Regions from separate parts of the Homo sapiens genome. Here region 2 is linked to region 1. The links are contacts of gene promoters, found by promoter capture Hi-C in human tissues and cell types (Jung and others, 2019). All regions are on one chromosome and are shown on one strand. The core of a region is centred on a gene start or on the middle of the fragment in contact, and the rest is flanking DNA. Distances in the headings are between cores, read along the strand shown. Region 1 holds the start of WDR53 (WD repeat domain 53). Region 2 holds the start of TFRC (transferrin receptor).

Evidence for each region. The method cuts DNA at HindIII sites, captures the fragments that hold promoters and counts their contacts. A contact is called where the count stands out against the background at its distance.
Region 2: the fragment with the promoter of TFRC here is called in contact with the fragment with the promoter of WDR53 in region 1 in 1 of the 25 tissues and cell types used here (mesenchymal stem cells).

What each region holds. Positions count from the first base shown.
Region 1 is chr3:196,566,273-196,570,677 of GRCh38, forward strand. WDR53 (WD repeat domain 53) reads right to left here and starts at 2,282. Exons shown (of 4, transcript NM_182627.3): 1 at 2,247-2,282; 2 at 605-1,035. It overlaps FBXO45 (F-box protein 45), which reads left to right and starts at 2,388. Exons shown (of 3, transcript NM_001105573.2): 1 at 2,388-3,030. The coding sequence starts at 2,713. RefSeq lists enhancers at 424-1,623, 3,641-4,189, 4,190-4,405 and silencers at 2,345-2,884, 3,006-3,300. The HindIII fragment of the contact is 3,803 bases long and covers 437-4,239 here.
Region 2 is chr3:196,080,218-196,085,012 of GRCh38, forward strand. TFRC (transferrin receptor) reads right to left here and starts at 1,873. Exons shown (of 19, transcript NM_001128148.3): 1 at 1,826-1,873. RefSeq lists an enhancer at 125-624 and silencers at 1,506-1,805, 1,856-2,195. The HindIII fragment of the contact is 11,516 bases long and covers 1-4,795 here.

The DNA.
Region 1 (4,405 bases), core at 1,032-3,531:
AGAGACAGGATTTCACCATGTTGCCCAAGCTGGTCTAACTCCTGAGCTCAAGCAATCCACCCACCTCGGCCTCCCAAAGTGCTGGGATTACAGGCATGAGCCACTGTGCCCTGCCAGGTGAGTTATTTTGAGAGCATTTTTTTCTTTTTTTTTTTTTTGAGACAGAGTTTCGCTCTCGTCGCCCAGGCTGGAGTGCAATGGTGCAATCTCGGCTCACTGCAACCTCCGTCTCCCAGGTTCAAGCGATTCTTGTGCCTCAGCCTCCTGAGTAGCTGGAACTACAGGCATGCACCACCACGCCCGGTTAATTTTTGTATGTTTGGTAGAGATGGGGTTTCACCATGTTGGCCAGGCTGGTCTCAAACTCCTGACTGCAGGTGATCCGCCCGCTTCGGCCTCCCAAAGTGCTGGGATTCCAGGCGTGAGCCACGGCACCCGGCCGAGAGCATTTTTTAAAAGGGTGAAGTGCCACAGCCGGCAGTTCTCATCAGCCAGAGCGCAGAATGAGAGTACTGAACATGGGGAAGGGGCTTGGTGGGGTGGGTGATGAGCAGGTGAAAGATTTGTAAAAAAGAAAAGGAGGGGTTGAGAAGGGTAATCTTACTTTGAAATTCTACCTGGGGCGCTCAGGAGACGGTCTGCCGTTGAAAGTCACCTCAGCGGCTGGACTAGATTAGTAAGAATGACAACATCGCATCCTTCAAAGGCTCTGCCTCGGCTGCACTGAGACACGATAAAGGCCAGTCTTTAAAAACTGAGTGATCTCTAAACACTCTGCACTAGTCATACCACCACCGTCCCGTTCAAGAGTCTGTGCCTCTAAGGCTGTTCATTCTGTCTAGTTCATGATCCCTTTCTCAGATGGATCAACTCTGCTTATCCTTGAAGACTTCAAAGAAATTAGTGAGAGACAGTCACCATCACCAGAGTCAGCACAGGTCAACTTTTCTCTACAGGCTTGGGGTTTCTGAAGTTGGACTTGATGTGGAGAAGCTGGATAGCAACCAAAATGATTGAAGGGCTGTGGCGCTGGCACTGGTAAGAATGAAAAGAATTAGGGTTACTGGACTTGGTGAAAAAGACATGAGGAGAAGGGACAGGCAAATAATAATCAAACACCATGAATCAGAGGGTAGGGAAGGTAGCCACCGTTCCTTTGCTTTTACTAGAGACTAAGAAATGGATTATACATAGCAAGAAGCTTCAGAAAAGATTTCTTACTACATAAAGGTTCCAAGACATTGGAGTTGACCAAGGGAGTCTGTGAACCCTATTATTTTAATTACTCAGCTCATGGAGTTGTTTTGAGGATTACGTATATAAAAATCTGCGTAAATGACGTAGTATACAGTGCCTGGTTCACACCGTGGCTCAAATGATGGTTATTATTATTCTCTTACTAAGCATGCTTTAAAGGCTGTCGGAAAACTTTGGGGCCACCTAGGAAATCGTAGTATAATCAAATAATGCTGAAATTCTTGTGTGTGTGTGTGTGTGTGTGTGTGTGTGTGTGTGAGGTAGGGGCTCACTCTGTCGCCCAGGCTGGAGCACAGCAGGGCGATTACGGTTCACCTCAGCCTCGACCTCCCGGGCTCAGCCTCCCAAGTAGCTGGGACCAGAGGCGCACGCCACCACCCTCGGCTAATTTTTCTATTTTTTTGTAGCGACACTGCCTCGCAATGTTGCCCAAGCTGGGATGCTGAAATTCTTCCCCTTCCAAGAATCCATCTATAATTATAGCCTCCACGTCATTCTCCCTATTGGAATGTTTAATTGACTAAAACTACATTGCCTTCATCTGCTTACTAAGCGGTGGATCCAGTAAAGACCACATCTTGTCCAAAAGACGGCAGCACTTAATTAGCGCTCAAATGGCACTCGAACGTTTGGGCGAGGGGGTGTTCAGTCGCAGCCACCTTACTTTGCGAAGGCACACAGGGACAGACGTTCGCTAAGTGCCGATACTTAGGGAGAACGAGAGGGCCTGACCAGGTAAAGACGGCCTCCGCTGCCCAAGCTACACAAAAAGGTTGGGGAGCCAGGACCCGGCAAGCAAGGAGAGAAAAGTTTCATGCGTTGAGCTGGAGTCTGAAGCAAGGACCTAACGGACACAGGGAAACGTCACAGGAAAGGGAGCCCAGGAGAGCAGACGCGGAGCCACCAGACCAGAAAAAGGAAAAAGCACTGGAAAACAGCATCGAAGTCACCGGAAAGCAGCATCGAAGCCACCGGCGCCAGCCTCATACCTGCGCTTCCCGCTCCCCTCCTCGGCGCCTAGTGATAACCTCACCCGCCGGCGCCCAATCCCGTCGAGCGTCAGGCGTGAGGCGGCGCAGCCAAACAGTCACATCCGGGGCCGAGAGGAACCGCGAACGAGCTGGGCGTGCGCCCTTGCTTCGTGCCCTCAACCCGCATGGCGGAGCCGCTGGCGCGCCGCGGAGAGGCCGGGCGAGTCGGGCGGTTTCGGCGCCCGCGCTGAGCCGCGGAGGAGGGGCGGAGGACGCCCCTGCAGCCGGTGCGTCTGCCCTCAGTGAGGCGGGGCGCGCGGCGGACGCCCCCGGGCAGGGGCGGGAGTGGTGGAGGCGCCGGCGGTTGGCACTGACAGGGGCGGTGAGCGAGCCGCTCCGGTCTCCGGGCGAGGCTTGGCCTTCCGAGCAGAGACGGCGGGAAGCGGCGGCGGCAGCGGCGGCCCTAGGGCCGGCTGGTGAGGCGATGGCGGCGCCGGCCCCGGGGGCTGGGGCAGCCTCGGGCGGCGCTGGCTGTAGCGGCGGCGGCGCGGGCGCGGGCGCGGGCTCGGGCTCTGGGGCCGCGGGGGCCGGGGGCCGGCTGCCCAGCCGGGTGCTGGAGTTGGTGTTCTCTTACCTGGAGCTGTCCGAGCTGCGGAGCTGCGCCCTGGTGTGCAAGCACTGGTACCGCTGCCTGCACGGCGATGAGAACAGCGAGGTGTGGCGGAGCCTGTGCGCCCGCAGCCTGGCAGAAGAGGCTCTGCGCACGGACATCCTGTGCAACCTGCCCAGCTACAAGGCCAAGGTGAGAGAGCCCCGGGCCACACCGCTGCCCCCAGTCCCGCTCCCCGGCGTCGTTCGCGGTGTTTCTCATCCGAGCTTCTGAGTCAGAAGCTTCGCCTCACCAGCCCGCCTTTCCACGGCTCCAGTCAGTATCTTCCTCACCTCCCCCCAAGATAAAGATTCTCTTTTCTTTGGATCGAAGTTCTGCTCCTTAACCCATCCCACTTCCGTGATCCACTTTTCAAACAACTAGGTAGTTTGCCTCACTCATTCAACTTTTGACAGTTTTCCCCGTTAAAGACAGACCACCACTCTTGTACCTTTTAATGCCCTCATCCTACTTTTCTCCCCGGCCTCCAGATAGACTTCATTATATTAAATAATCCCGGCCACCTTAACATGGGCTTAGTTTCTAAGTTTCTAAGTTTCTAGTTTGCTTTCACTCCACGTTTATCTCATCTTTTCCAAGCTCTGATTTTTAACCATTTGTTTTCATTATTTTCCCCCAAGTTCTCTTTAGTTCCCTCCACTATATTGGAGGCTTACAAGTGAGTGTAGTTCTAGTCATCCTGCTCACTTACAAGATACAGGCTTTTATAGAACGTCCACGGGCACCACCTAACATACTGCTTTGTCCTGCTGTTATTGGCTGTTTCCTTGCTAACTTTTTAATAGTTCCACATTGATGGTGTCTCTCTTTTTCTATTTGTCATCTAACGTGCTGATTACAGTTTCGCTGCATCCTTCCTGCATATTCCGCCCGCCTTCATATACAAAATAAAAATGTCAAGGAACAAGTTGTGGTACGGCTGAAAGGACTCTCAGGCCGAATAAACAAAGGGTCTTGGTCTTGAGTTGAGTTGAATGGTTAACAGCTATTCAGTATAGCAGTCAATCAAGATCATATATAAGAGAAGATAAAGTCTGATTGCAATGTGTTAAACATAATGAATGCATTAGTAACTAAAACGATAACATCCCCCCCTTTTTTTTTTTTTTTGAGACGGAGTGCAATGGCGTGATCTCGGCTCACCGCAACCTCCGCCTTCCAGGTTCAAGCAATTGTCTTGCCTCAGCCTCCCGAGTAGCTGGGATTACAGGCATGCGCCACCATGCCCGGCTAATTTTGTATTTTTAGTAGAGTTGTGGTTTCTTCTTGTTGGTTAGGCTGGCCTCGAACTCCCGACCTCAGGTGATCCGCCCTCCTCGGCCTCCCAGAGTGCTGGGATTAGAGGCGTGAGCCACCGCGCGATAACACCCCCTTTTTAATGCTAGCTTGCCAACAGGGGTCGGAGTAAGAAGTAAAAATTTTTTTTTCATGTGAAGCATGTAAAATTTATACTTATGTAGTAAAACCGGTTTTAGTTATAGAAGATAGGGAACATTGCCATTAAATA
Region 2 (4,795 bases), core at 623-3,122, 490 kb before region 1:
CTCAGCCTCCTGAGTGGCTGGGATTACAGGTGTGCACCACCATGCCCAGCTAATTTTTGTATTTTTCGTAGAGACGGGGTTTCACCATGTTGGCCAGGCTAGTCTCGAACTCCTCACCACAAGTGATCCACCTGCCTCGGCCTCCCAAAGTGCTGGAATTACAGACGTGAGCCACCATGCCCGGCTAATTTTTGTGTTTTTAGTAGAGACAGGATTTCACCATGTTAGTCAGACTGGACTCGAACTCCTGACCTTAGGTGATCCGCCTGCCTTGGCCTCCCAAAGTGCTGGGATTACAGGCGGGAGCCAATGCGCCCAGCCGAGGGTCATTTTTAACTAGCATTGTGATCGATTCAGGTTTAGCTGGGAATCTTGCTCCATGACATTTAAATACATTATCAGAGGCAAGTAACTGCCTCGCCTTAGGGCGGAGTTAGCCAAACTGCTGTCTATCTAACAATCTTCAACACAGGCTAGGTTTACAGCCACCATTACTTGATAAGAACATCCAAAGGAAATTGAAGGATGCTATGCTATATATAACCTTGCAAAATCGATGACAAAAATTATCTTAACTCTGAGTTTTCTTGAGAAGCATATTGTAACCCAAAATTCAGGGCCGGGGGGCGGGGGGAACCAGCAGGGTCCACAAGTACTCTAGACAGCCTAACCTTAATTTTCACAGTAAGCTTAGCATATAAGCATGGGGTAGCCAAATACAATTTCCTACTTTAATCCTCTTATCAACGGGGAAGAAAATGGAAAAAGCTGCAGAATCCAGTCCCCCGGGTAAGTGAGGTCTCTACAAGCAGTAAGCAGAGGGAAAGCGTTATCCGAAAAGAGCCGAATCAGAATGTATTTTCTTACCCACCCTCCCAACCTTAAAAGAACTGTCCAGCAGAATGTGACACAATCGGCCTCTCCGGCGCCCATCAATCCAGCACAGCCCTCTGACCACACCGCTAATCTCCAAGTATCTTTCACAAATAAGTCACTCCTATGGCTCCCGTCTTGTAGTGAGAACTGCTAGCAATATTCTTAATGTGAACACCTGCGGCGTTCAGTCGGATTCTGCCTTGAGAAAACAGAATCCACACACAAGGCGAACAGGCAGAGCATGGCAAGATCAGGTTGTACCAGAGCCGAAGGGTAAGTTTACAGAAACCCGTATCTAATTAATGCCTGTAACACGCTAGTAACCGAATCGGGGACAGCTTTGTCCCTTTCCGCAGTGAGAACGGGGCCCGCCCGGAGCCCGGGGAACCGAAGGTTTAGGAGCCCAAGGTCACCCACGAATCCCAGCCGTTCCCTGGGGCGACTTCCTGGAGCAGCCACGTGTTCCCCCGGCGCCGCACGCCGCGCAGCTGCACCTTGGCTGCGCCCGCGCTCCCGGACCCGCAGCCCGGAGCCGGCGCACTAGGGCCTGCGGCCTTCAAGGGCGAGGACCCGAAGTCCCCGGGGCTGAGAGCGACAGTGGGGGTACACCTGGTCTCGTCATTCGTCGCTCTGTGACCGAGGAGGCGGGCAAGAAGGCAGAGAGAAGGGAAGGGACGAGAGGCGAAGGGACGAGAGGCGCAGGGACGCCTCTGCGCACAGCCGCCGACCCCGTGTACCTGCAGCCGCTCGAGGCGCCGCCACAGCCCCTTCCCCACAGGCTCGCGGCCCCGCTCCATCCCGGCCGCCCCGCCTGGGGCCGCGACCGCTTTCCCGCTCCCCGTGCGGCTCCCTATGGCTGCTGGACAGCACCGGAGCGGCCGCTCCAGCCAGCCCCGCAGGATGAAGGGAGGACACGAGGGTCGGTGTAGTTCTAGAAGCCCGCACTCACACTAGCGCGTCCTCCGTCCCGAGCCGCCACCCGATATCCCGACGCTCTGAGGGGATGGCGGCCCCTAACCGGCGGTTTATAGCCTGGCCCCGCCCCCGGCCCCCAGGGGGGCTGTGCGTCACTTCCTGAGGCACGTACGCTCGCGAGGTGCTCTGACAGATCGCCCGGGGGGCGGGGATGCGCGCGCAGCGGGCGGGGCCCTATGCGGAGGGCGCTGCGGGCGAGGCGAAGGCCAAGGGAAAAGGCGCCAAGGCAGCAGGTGCCCCGAGGAGCCGCGCGATGGGCGCACTGGCCTCTGCCTCGGCGCCTTCCTCCACCCTGGTAGCCTGGCAGCCTCCGCCTGACCTTGACCAACCTCCAGTCCCTGCAGTGCTAGGTCCAATCTGTTGGCGTTGACGCTTAAATGTTGGATATTGCACTGCGGCAGTGCCTTGAAATGTACGTGCAGGATGGAATGTTAGGTAACTATTAAAGCCACTCTTGTGAAGATGTATTTTGCAGCCTCAGAAATACAAAAAGGAAAAGAAAAGCAAAATGCAAATTTTTATTCAGAATGTATACAAGCTGCACTTTAACCAAGACTAGCGGAGTGCTTTGCGTAATGTTTAATGCATGAGGGAATAAAAGGGAAAATAGAAACAAGTGACTTAATAGGGTGATAGGATTGTAGATTAACTTTCGTTTTCATTGCCATCGCTGTTATTGGATTGTGCAATGAATAACAAATAAATAAAATTCAATTCTTGTCACTGTTTAAACTCTTTCCAAACAATCACACCCTCTCCCTCCCTCTGGTCAGTAACCAGCAGGCCAGGGAGGTAGTAGCTACAATGCAAGAAAGCAACCCATACCTTAAAAAGCATTGCACATAAACTGACCTTCAGGCCCGTAGGGACACAGAACAGCCCTTTAAGAAGCAAATCCGTTTCTGGGCCTTGGGCTTTTACTCTTCCCTTTATTTCTTCTGCTCTAAGATAGAGAAAGTACTTGGGATTCTCACCGCCTTTCTCTTTACTCCCATTCTCTAAAATCTCTCTCCCCAAAGAGAAGTGTTTAAAAGTCATATGAGTTGCCAGGCGCGGTGGCTCACGCCTGCAATCCTAACACTTTGGGAGGCCGAGGTGAGCGGATCACGAGGTCTGGAGTTCGAGACCAGCCTGACCAATATGGTGAAACCCCATCTCTACTAAAAAAATTTCAAAAAAAATTAGCCAGGCATAGTGGCACGCGCCTGTAATCCCAGCTACTCAGGAGGCTGAGGCAGAAGAATCGCTTGAACCCAAGAGGCGGAGGTTGCAGTGAGCCAAGATCGCGCCATTGCACTCCAACCTGGGCGACAGAGCAAGATTCCATCTCAAAAAAAAAAAAAAGTCATATGAGCAGGAGCATTGCTGCACCTTTAATGATCTAATCAGGAAAAGGTTAAGGATGCACATCCACAGAGGGCCTACCTTAACATTCAGACACCAGGCCTGCTCCCCTGTGGTGTTCCTTCTTTATTTCTTTAATTATTAATTTTATTTATTTTTATTATTTTTACTTTTAAGACAGTGTCTTGCTCTGTCACCCTGGCTGGAGTACAGTGGCATGATCTCGGGCTCACTGCAACCTCTGCCTCCGGATTCAAGCGATTCTCCTGCCTCAGCCTCCCAAGTAGCTGGGACTACAGGTGTGTGCCACCATGCCAGGCTAATTTTTGTATTTTGAGGAGTGACGGGATTTTATCATGTTGGCCAGGCTTGTCTCGAATTCCTGACCTCAGGTGATCTGCCCACCTTGGCCTCCTAAAATGTTGGGATAACAGGCATGAGCCACCATGCCCAGCCTATTTATTTTTTATTTTTAATTTGACGCAGGGTTTGCTATGTAGCCCAGACTAGTCTTGAACTCCTGGGCTCAAACAATCCTCCTGCCTCCGGTCTCCCAAAGTGCTGGGATTATAGGCATGAGCTAACATGCCTGGCTTTCTGCCTTTCCTTGACTGAAGTATCTTTTAAAAAGAAACAAACAATGCTGGTATTTGCAGGTGAAAATCTTATAGCCTCATGGAGGACATAGGTTTAGGTGGCCAGATGCGATGGCTAATCCCTGTAATCCCAACACTTTGGGAGACTGAGGCAGGTGGATCTTCTGAGGTCAGGAGTTCAAGACCAGCCTGGCCAGCATGATAAAACCCCATCACAACTAAAAATACAAAATTTAGTCTGGCGTGGTGGCGCACACCTGTAGTCCCAGCTACTCCAGAGGCTGAGGCAGGAGAATCGTTTGAACCCGGGAGGGGGGTGGCTGCAGTGAGCTGAGATCACACCACTGCCCTTCAGCCTGGGCAGCAGAGCAAGACTCTGTCTCAAAAAAAAAAAAAAAAAAGAAAGAAAGAAAGAAAAGAAAAGAAAGAAAAATATGTTTAGGAGACATTTAGAGGCCAGGACCATTTGGACATGAAAATTCAAATCTCAAAAATTTATATTCACTAAAATAAAACCATAAACGTGACACTAAAGAGGCTATCAATTATATTTTTATTTTTATGCTGTTATTAGTATTAATAGACACTGCAATTAAAGTCCACTTATTAACACTTTTACTATTTATTTATTTATTTTTAAACAGTCTTACTCTGTCACCCAGGCTGGAGTGCAGTGGCGCCATCTCGGCTCAATGCAACCTCCACCTGGGTTCAAGCGATTCTCCTGCCTCAGCCTCCCGAGTAGCTGGGATTACAGGCACGTGCCACCACGCATGGCTAATTTTTTGTATTTTTAATAGAGACGGGGTTTCTCCATGTTGGCCAGGCTGGTCGTGAACTCCTGCCCTCATGATCTGCCTGCCTTGGCCTCCCAAAGTGCTGGGATTACAGGCGTGAGCCACCGAGCCTGGCCAAATTATTCGAAATTATTATTGGAAATTATTTAATTTCCAACCCTCCACAAACTATTCCATGAGGCTTACCTCATCCTGGAACTAAAACTC